2 separate regions of the Homo sapiens genome follow, and region 2 is linked to region 1. Evidence: promoter capture Hi-C in 16 types of primary human blood cells and fetal thymus (Javierre and others, 2016). All regions are on one chromosome and are shown on one strand. Each heading gives the region's core, a stretch centred on a gene start or on the middle of the fragment in contact. The rest is flanking DNA. Distances are from core to core; before and after follow the strand shown.

The links. The method cuts DNA at HindIII sites, captures the fragments that hold promoters and counts their contacts. A CHiCAGO score of 5 or more calls a contact.
Region 2: a fragment that was not itself captured here is called in contact with the fragment with the promoter of RABEP1 in region 1 in 2 of 17 cell types (total B cells and naive B cells); the score reaches 8.5 in total B cells.

What each region holds. Positions count from the first base shown.
Region 1 is chr17:5,279,245-5,284,325 of GRCh38, forward strand. RABEP1 (rabaptin, RAB GTPase binding effector protein 1) reads left to right here and starts at 3,040. Exons shown (of 18, transcript NM_004703.6): 1 at 3,040-3,276. The coding sequence starts at 3,243. RefSeq lists a silencer at 2,760-3,479. The HindIII fragment of the contact is 5,707 bases long and covers 2,257-5,081 here.
Region 2 is chr17:5,197,297-5,202,377 of GRCh38, forward strand. The region is part of intron 1 of ZNF594-DT (ZNF594 divergent transcript); the gene reads left to right. Among named protein-coding and RNA genes, the nearest start is that of ZNF594-DT, 7.8 kb to the left of the region's middle. The HindIII fragment of the contact is 5,101 bases long and covers 253-5,081 here.

The DNA.
Region 1 (5,081 bases), core at 1,790-4,289:
CCTCCCAAAGTGCTGGGATTACAGGCGTGAGCCACCACACCTGGCCGCATCTGCTATCTTTATGGCTTATGCCTCGTGTTAGTCATCACAACAATACAGAGGATGCACTGGGCTGCCCTATCCTGGCCAAAGGTCTTCCTGGTAAGCATGGATTTGCTCATCCAGGAAAATCATTTATGGGGGGTTGGGCAGGGTGTTGGGGAGACCCTGCTTGCTCTCTCAAATGCACACCAGCCATTTGGGAGACATTAACTGCTCAAAAAACTCGAGTCTGTATTTTGGCTCTCCTCTAACGATGGCAGGACCTGGGGCAAAAGTACAAATAGATACCTAAATTATTTAAAATTACAAACCAGTTTGGACGTGGTGGCTCACACCTGTAATCCCAGCACTTTGGGAGGCCGAGGTGGGTAGATCACTTGAGGTCAGGAGTTCAAGACCAGCCGGGCTAACATGGTGAAACCCTGTCTCTACTAAAATTACAAGAGTTAACTGGGCGTGGTGACACACGCCTATAATCCTAGCTACTCAGGAGGCTGAGGCAGGAGAATCACTGGAATCCGGGAGGTGGAGGTTGCAGTGAGCTGAGATGGTGCCACTGCCCTCCAGCCTGGGCAATAGAGTGAGAGACTCCGTCTCCAAAAATTAAATAAATAATAAAATAAAATAAAATTACAAACTACTCCAATTAACCGCTAACCTTAATACAGTCTATCCTTCTACTTGGACAAATCTACCTGTTTAAGACCTGGAAGACCAGGTTTAAATTTAGAATTCCTGGGCTCCTGGGAGTTATGCCCATGAATGAGGTGGCGAAAGCAGCACAGGCCCTGGCCCAACTATTGTCTCTTGGCTCACTTGCCTTCTTTTCTCACCTCTGTCCTGCACCATGAGGGATCTGTGGACATAGGAGCTCAAACACCCAAGTGTCGTGTCACCCCCTTAAAATAAAACAAAGCTGCCCTTTAGCCTCCCTTTTTTTCAGTGAGAAATAATCATTTTAATAAAAGTATACCTTATTTAAAACAAATGATTTAAAGAAAGTAGAAACTGATTCTAATTAGTGGATTTTCTGATTATTATTATTATTATTTGAGATGGAGTCTCGATCTGTCGCCCAGGCTGGCAGTGGTGCGATCTTGGCTCACTGCAACCTCCGCCTTCTGGGTTCAAGCAATTCTCTGCCTCAGCCTCCCGAGTAGCTGGGAGTACAGGCGCCTGCCACCACACCCGACTAATTTTTTGTATTTTTAGTAGAGATGGGGTTTCACCATCTTGGAGAGGCTGATCTTGAACTCCTGACCTCGTGATCCACCTGCCTCAGTCTCCCAAAGTGCTGGGATTACAGGCGTGAGCCACTGTGCCCGGCCTATTATTATTTTTTTATTATACTTTAAATTCTTGGATACATGTGCTAAACGTGCAGGTTTGTTACATAGGTATACATGTGCCATGGTGGTTTGCTGCATCTATCAACCCGTCATCTAGGTTTTAAGCCCCGCATGCATTAGGTATTTGTCCTAATGCTCTCCCTCCCCTTCCCCCCACCCCCCACAGGCCCCGGTGTGTGATGTTCCCCTCCCTGTGTCCATGTGTTCTCATTATTCAATTCCCACTTATGAGTGAGAACATGAGGTGTTTGGTTTTCTTTTCCTGTGTTAGTTTGCTGAGAATGATGGTTTCCAGCTTCATGCATGTCCCTGCAAAGGACATGAACTCATTCTTTATGCTTTCACTTTAGCTTCTTTTAGGGATGTCTAGACTCTGCCATAGAGAGAATGGATCTGGGAAAGAGACCACAGCTTCAGCCATCTGGAAAGGGAATTCTGGGGCCACAAGTATTCAGAACTTGGTCCTGAAGTGCCAAACCCTGTGGACTCCCTCATCCTGGGGTGGGATTGCTGGGTCTTAAAATGTACATAATTCCTGATGCTCCTCTCTGATTTCAAAATAGCTTTTTAGGCCGGGCGCGGTGGCTCACGCCTGTAATCCCAGCACTTTGGGAGGCTGAGGCAGGCGGATCACGAGGTCAAGGGTTTGAGACCAGCCTGACCAACATAGTGAAACCCCGTCTCTACTAAAAATACAAAAATTAGCCGGGTGTGGTGGCGTGCGCCTGTTGTCCCAGCTAGTCGGGAGGCTGAGGCAGGAGAATTGCTTGAACCCGGGAGGCAGAGGTTGCAGTGAGCCGAGATCGCACCATGGCACTCCAGCCTGGGTGTCAGAGTGAGACTCTATCTCCAAAAAAAAAAAAAAAGCTTTTTAAACTACCTCCTTGGCATGGGGCACTCCAGGTGTCGAAATCAGACGGGGAGTGGTGATTAGAGGGGAGTTCCTAAAGTATAGGGCCCAGGGGCCCAAGTATAAGGGCCACACTTTGTGTATATGATTTCTCCTTTCCTGCCATGAGTGCAGGGTCTGTACCTGGCTGTATCTCCAGCATCTATCACGACTGAAAACCCAAACGTATTTGCTGAATGGATAGTATACTGGCCTCTGCACCAGAAGACCTGGGGTCCAGGCCCAGTACTGTCGGAAACAGTTCTTCATACTTTATTACCTCGTTTAAACTTTTCTTAGCCATTATATTGATAAAAATTCCAAGAGGTGAAGTGACTCTCCCAAGGTCGCAAAGCTAGAAGAGGTAGAGGCTGGAACTGCACCCCGCCATCGGTCCTCCTCTCTTACTCATTTTTTTTTTTCCCCTCACTGTGCTGGGGTGGAGAACCGGGACCGGCACCTTCGAGAGGCCAGGCCTCTGCTGCAGCCCCTCTTCTCCAGCTCCGCTCGGCACTCAGCCTCCCCGCGCCGCTGGGTCAGGCGCCCAGCTCCGCCGAAACCCTCCCCTCCCGCCGCGCTCCCTCCGCGCTCCCTCCGCGCTCCCTCCGCGCTCCCTCCGCGCTCCCTCCGCGCTCCCTCCGCGCTCCCTCCGCGCTCCCTCCGCGCTCCCTCCGCGCTCCCGAGGCCCCGCCCCTCCCCTCGGGCCAACGTCACGTGCCGCCCCATCCCCCTGCGCCTGCGCACTGCTTATTTCCCGCTGTCAGGATGAGGAGGCGGAGGTCGGCGGTCGGGTCCGTCTCTGCCCGCGGCTGTGGCGGCGCCGGCGGATCCAGCCTTAGCGGTTTCTCTCTGGGCGGCGGCGGCGGCGGCTCGGTTGACGCCTCCTCCGCCAGCTGAGCCCGCGGGAGCCCAGGACGCCGCTTCCCCGCCCATCCCCGCTCCCCGAGGCCGGCCGCCTGGTCATGGCGCAGCCGGGCCCGGCTTCCCAGCCTGACGGTGAGGCGCCCACCATGGCAGGCGCGGCGGGCGCGGCCTGCCCGGCGTCGGCGTCGCGGGAGGATTTCGGGGCGGGCAGGCGGCGGCAAGGGCGCGCGCAGGCCCCGGGGGTGACCCCGCCGGGCGGAGGCGGGGGCGCGCGGGCTGCGGCGCGCGAGGGCGGCGCGGGCGCCCCGGCTGCCGTCGCTGGGGAGGGGGCGGGAGGCGCGGGTGCAGCGCTTGCGGGAGGGCAGAGGGAAGGGCGTGGGGAGGCTGCTGGGTAGCGTGGGGTAGTGTGGGGAGGGAGCGGTTCTGGGTAGCGGGGGACCGGCACGTGGGTTCTGCCCGTGGGGGAGGATGGAAATCGGGAACATGTGCTATATTCGTTAAAGAAAAAAAATCTTAGCTTAGGTAGTGTACCCTCCCTGCCGCCCCAATCCTTGCTATAGAACTCTTTGCACCCAGTTATGTGACCTGAAAGTAGTTGTGTACAGTAACTGGATTTAGTAGCATTCCCTGAATGGCAGTGTGGCTTAATGGTTAAGTGTTGGGGCCTGGGAGTCTAGAGGACCTGTATTCTTAACCAGCAAGCTCTGGGCTCATTTCTTAGCCTCGTTGAGCCTCAGTATTCTCACCCACGAATTAACCAAGAGGTTAATTCATGCCTTTATATTTTATCTATAAAAATAGCAACACGAATGTGTATATACAATAATAGTATTATGGAGGTATTAGGAATAATGAGAATAGTGTTTGAGAATGCTGAGGCCTACTTGCACTACTTGAAGATATTTGCTTGTGGAACTAAAAAAAAAAAAGTGAAGTCGAAGAAATGTGTCATTTATATTCTTGGAAGGAAAAAAGGGCCCCATCCTAAATAATCAAAGTTGGTTGTCAGAGCCCTTCGTGACCTTCTGGGAAATTGGACTAAGCTGTGCTTCACAGATTGACTACATGGTTCCAGGTTTTACCACCTAGAATAGATGTTTGGAAATAGTGTGCTTGGGCTTTTCCAAGGTCCCACTGTATCTAGTTGTGAAAGTACTTTCTGGTGTATTTCTATAATCAGCGTGTGTGCTTAGCATCTTTAAGTGTGAGTAGAGTAGAATGTTGGGAAAAGGGGCTTGGTACGGAGTAGGTACTTTAAAACTTGGCTTTCCTTGGGGTTGTCTCAAAATAACCTTTCGTGAAACCCTTACTTTTTATTTTTGCCTTTGGGGAACTTGAAACCATGTTATCAGATTTTAAGGTTCTGGCTGCTCTCTGGGAAATGTGCTTCAGAGCCTGTTAGCCTGTAGTTTTGGGTGTTGTTGCTTGCCTAAGGGGAGATGTCCAGTAAGCATTTAGACTTTTATAAGAACCTGCTTTGCTGTTTCTGTTCCAGGAGAAGGGAAGGGAAGCATTTTTGGTGGGCTGTCAGAGAGAGGAAACTGGGATGTCTTCAGGCTGCATTTTAATGATCACCTTTTGCATTTGGTGTCAGGCAAGAAAACTTTGTTCTTCCACAATCCCACTTTGTTACTGCACACAGAGGCAAGATACAGAGAGCTTGTGGTTCTGAACAGGAGTGGTAGGTATGCATAGCTGGCTGCTGCCTTCTCTTGAGTTGCATGGAAAGAAACGTCTAGGGCAGCTCAGGTGACATGACCGTCTGGAATCAAAATTCCCTGCCTCTTTGAAGATATGAAATGGTCTTCCTTGTAAATAGGCAGAAGTGACTAAGCACTTGAACGAGGCTAGGGAAAACTAGCTTTAGGAAATCTTGTATTCTTGGTATTTTAGTTCAGGTTTCTTTCCTATTTCTCAAATCTTGTGACTCTAGGATG
Region 2 (5,081 bases), core at 1,553-4,052, 82 kb before region 1:
TTCAAGCAATTCTCCTGCCTCAGCATCCCACATTGCTGGGATTACAGGCATGTGCCATGATGCCCGGCTAATTTTTGTATTTTTAGTAGAGACGGGGTTTCTCCATGTTGGTCAGGCTGGTCTCGAACTCCCAACCTCAGGTGATCCACCCACCTCGGCCTCCCAAAGTGCTGAGATTACAGGCGTGAGCCACCACGCCCTGCCTAAAGAGACATCTTAAATACGCCTTTATTTTTAGACAATAGAAAAATAAGCTTCCCATTATGCAAGAGTCCTATGGCCTTTGTGCTTTCCTACCCTGTGAACTAAGAGTCTAAATCTGTGAAAAGATGTCCATGAGGTAGAGTTGAATTAAAATAGCAGGTTGCAGAACAATATTTGTACCTCCTCACTTTCTTCTTTTCTGCCTCTCTCCCTTCCTTCTCTACTTCCACAAAAGTTGACTGAGCACCTATTGTGTGCTAATATATGCTAAGTTACTGGAAATGCAATGGTGAGCAAAGCAACACCAGTGTAGTCCCTGTGGATCTTATAGTCCCTCATTGATGGACAGATAGGTTGGTTCCACCTTCTCATTATAACAAATAATACTACAAAGAACGTTTTATACATACACTTGAGTTTCTCTAGGGCAGTGGTTCTCAAAGAGTGGTCTGGGCCATGAGACCAAAACAATTTTCATAATAATATTAAGATGTTATTTGGCCTTTTTCATGCTCACTCTTCTCACGAATGTTCAATGGACCTTTCCATGAGGCTACATGACATACGACATTGCAACAAATTGATGGCAGAAGCAGATAGGAGAATTCAGATGTTTTCTATTAAGCCAGATATGAGATTTGAAAAAAAAAATGTAACATACACAGTGACACTTTTCTCACTAATTTTTTTGTTTGGGAAAATATAGTTATTTTATTATTTTTTGGAGAGAGGGTCTCACTCTGTTGCCCAGGCTGGAGTGCAGTGGCACCATAGCTCACTGCAGCCTCAAACTCGTGGGCTCAAGTGATCCTCCCGCCTCTGCCTCCCAAGTAGCTGGGACTACAGGTGCTCACCACTATGCCTGGCTAACGTTTTTATTTTTAGTTTTTGTAGAGATTGAGTCTTGCTATGTTGCCCAGGCTGGCCTCTAACTCCTGGGCTCAAGCAGTCCACCCACCTCAACCTCCTAAGTAGGTGGATCTACAAGCTCTCACCACTGAGCCTGGCTCCCTCCATCATTTTTAAGTGCAATGGAGACCTGGTACCAAGTGGTTTGAGACTCACTGTTCTAGGGCAAGGGTCCCCATTGCCCGGGCCTGGACCAGTACAGTCTGTGGCCTGTTAGGAACCAGGCTGCACAGCAGGAAGTAAGTGGAGGGCAAGCGAGCATTACTTCCTGAGCTCTGCCTCCTGTTAGATCAGGGGCGGTATTACATTCTCATAGGAGCACGAACCTTATTGTGAACTGCACACATGAGGACTCTGGGTTGCACGCCTTTTACGAGAATGTAATGGCTGATGATCTGAAGTGGAGCAGTTTCATACCAAAACCATTCCCCCCTTTCCTCCCAACCCGTCCCTAGTGCCAAAAAGGTTGGGGACTGCTGTTCTATGGTATCTATCCCGAAGTGGAGTTGCTGTGTTTTACAGTGTCCACAATTTCAGTTTTACTAGGTGTTGCCAAATTGCTCTCCAAAGTGGCTGAAGCTAATTTATTATTTTTTTTAAATTTATTTTGAGATGGTGTCTTGCTCTGTTGCCAGGCTGGAGTGCAGTGTCGCGATCTTGGCTCACTGCAACCTCCGCCTCCTGGATTCAAGTGATTCCCCTGCCTCAGCTTCCCGAGAAGCTGGGATTATAGGCGCGCACTCCCACGCCCAGCTAATTTTTTGTATTTTAGTAGAGACAGGGTTTCACCATGTTGGCCAGGCTGGTTTCAAACTCCTGACCTCGTGATCCACCCACCTCAACCTCCCAAAGTGCTGGGATTATAGGTGTGAGCCACTGCGCCTGGCCTTTTTTTTTTTTTTTTTTTTTTTTTTTTTCTTAAGAAGGAGTCTCAGTCCATCTCCCAGGCTGGAGTGCAGTGGTGCAATCTTGGCTCACTGCACCTTCCACCTGCCAGGTTCAAGCAATTCTCCTGTCTCAGCCTCCTGAGTAGCTGGGATTATAGGCACGCACCACCACACCTGACTATTTTTTTTATATATTTAGTAGAGATGGGGTTTCATCATGTTGGCCAGGCTGGTCTCAAACTCCTGACCTCAAGCCATCCGGCCTCTCAAAGTGCTGGGATTACAGGCGTGAACCACCTCAACTGGTCAAAAGCTAATCTTAAAAAACAAAAAACAAACAAAAAAAACCCCAAAAATACCAGGCCGGGTACGGTGGCTCACGCCTGTAATCCCAGCACTTTGGGAGGCCTCAGTGGGTGGATCACAAGGTCAGGAGTTCAAGACCAGACTAACCAATATGGTGAAACCCCATCTCTACTAAAAATACAAAAATTAGCTGGGCATGGTGGTGCACGCCTGTAGTCCCAGCTACTCAGGAGGCTGAGGCAGGAGACTCACTTGAACCCAGGAGGCAGAGGTTGCAGTGAGCCAAGATCGCGCCACTGCACTCCAGCCTGAGCGACAGAGCAAGACTCTGTCTCAAAAAAAAAAAAAGAAAGAAAAAAACCAACCAAACAAACAAACAAAAAAACTGGCTGAGGAGGACAAATCACTTGAGCCCAGGAATTTGAGGCCAGCCTGGGCAACATGGCAAAACCCCATCTCTACAGAAAATAATTTTAAAAGTTAGTTAGAAGCCTTTACTAACTTAGGGGAAAAAAAAATTAGCCAGGCATGGTGGTGCATGCCTGTGGTCCCAGTTACTTGGGAAGCTGAGGTGGGAGGATGGCTTCAGCCTGGGAGGCAGAGGTTGCAGTTAGCTGAGATTGTGCCGCTGCACTCCAGCCTGGGTGACAGAGTAAGACCTTGTCTCAAAAAAAAAAAAAAAAAAGTACATATCCTTGATGTTTTTGTCGTTGTTTTTCCCAAATCTCAAATTGTAAAGAATTGTGAAATTATTAGACTAGTAAAAGAAAAAAAAATAAAGTAGACTAGTGATACAATACAACAGTGAGTTGCTGTATGAAATGTTCATTTTCTTTTCTAAACAATACTGTGAAAAGCAGGGTCACATTTATCTTAAATGTTCTCAGAGGAAGTTTTTCTTGGTCACTGAGAATGGCTTTGTACAGTATCAACATTACATGTATCGGAAAATTTATTTTTGTTTGGGGGCTCATTGGGGATAAAAGTGTACAAGTTATGCAAATAAACCTTTTTTAACATCAGGGGAATTTCGTTATTCTTAAATACTACCTTCTGCAATTTTTGTTAAAACCATGTTCCACTAACACCTAATTTGTAAAAAAAAAAAAAAAAATACAGAGGGATCTAGTGTTAAAACAACTTAAAGGCTGTTAGTTTATAGTTCACTTTGTAAATGAGAGTTTATTTTTACCAGTTTAGGGCTTTTTAAAATTATTCATAGAATATTTAATTGTTCAAGTGTAGCTGATCTAAAACTTTAATGGCATTAAATTTTGGCAATGGAATATGTTGATCAGGCTGGGCGCAGTGGCTCATGCCTGTAATCCTAACACTTTGTGAGGCCGAGACAGGTGGATCACCTGAGGTCAGGAGTTCGAGACCAGCCTGACCAATATGGCGAAACCCGATCTCTACTAAAAATACAAAAATTAGCCGGACGTGGTGGTGGGAGCCTATAATCCCAGCTAGAAAAAAAGAAATACGTTGGTCAATATGAGAGGTTGAGTTTTACAGTTGAAGGGGAAGGGTGCAGCGATATTAATTGGCTGTTTCTGACAGTAGTTTGGCACATAGTTGTATGTACACTCTGCTCCAGTAAAATGAAATGCGACCACAGTCAACGGTTACCTATTTATGCTGGAGGGTGTTTGGCAATCAACTGTTAATTTAAGTGAGATTCCATTCTGCCGCTTAGCCATGGCAGAGCACACACATGTGCACTCAGGGAAAGCAGATGGAATAGGTTATAAACAGAAGCAAACTCCAATTCAGGAGACATGTTCACGCAGAAATAGTACTATGATGCAACATACATCACAAAAACAAATGGAAATTGTGTTTGTTTGTTTTTGAGATACAGTCTTGCTCTTTCGCCAGGCCAGAGTGCAGTGGCACAATCTCAGCTCACTGCAACATCCATCTCCCAGGTTCAAGCGATTCTCCTGCCTCAGCCTCCCGAGTAGCTGGGACTACAGGTGCGCACAACCACGCCAGCTAATTTTTGTATTTTTAGTAGAGACGGGGTTTCATCATCTTGGCCAGGATGGTTTCGATCTCCTGACCTTATGATCCGCCTCAGCCTCCCAAAGTACTGGGATTACAGGCGTGAGCCATGGCGCCCGGCAAGAAATTTTTTTTTAAATCTGTCTTTAGGGGATTATCTAGCTATTAGTGGGGTTAAATGAGGGAACTGTCGCCTCGGCAGAAGAGATGGTCCACTGTATTCATTTGTCATAATAACCAGACTCCTGGAGTTACTGGGTTCTAAAGTTGTTGATACAGCATGAATAGGTTTGGATGTGGAGTTCTGTATGGAGGATCCTTTCAACGGGAAGATAAACCAAAATTGTTGGTCGTAGCCTTTTGGACTACTGACTTAAGAGATTATTTGAATCTCTTTAAAGAGTCAAAATTGGCTGGGCGCGGTGGCTCATGCCTGTAATCTCAGCACTTTGGGAGGCCAGGGCAGGTGGATTGCTTGAGGTCAGGAGCTCAAGACCAGGCTGGCCAACATAGTGAAACCCCATCTCTACTAAAATACAACGATTAGCCAGGTGTGGTGGTGGGCACCTGTAATCCCAGCTACTTGGGAGGCTGAGGCAAGATAATCGCTTGAACCTGGGAGGCGGAGGTTGCAGTGAGCTGAGATCGAGCCACTACACTCTCAGCCTGGGTGACAGAATGAGGCTCTGTCTCACACACAAAATAAGCCTGTATTGTTGTAAATAGATTGTGAAGGGTGATTCTGGTGAGGGCTCAGAAGAAGAGGAGAGC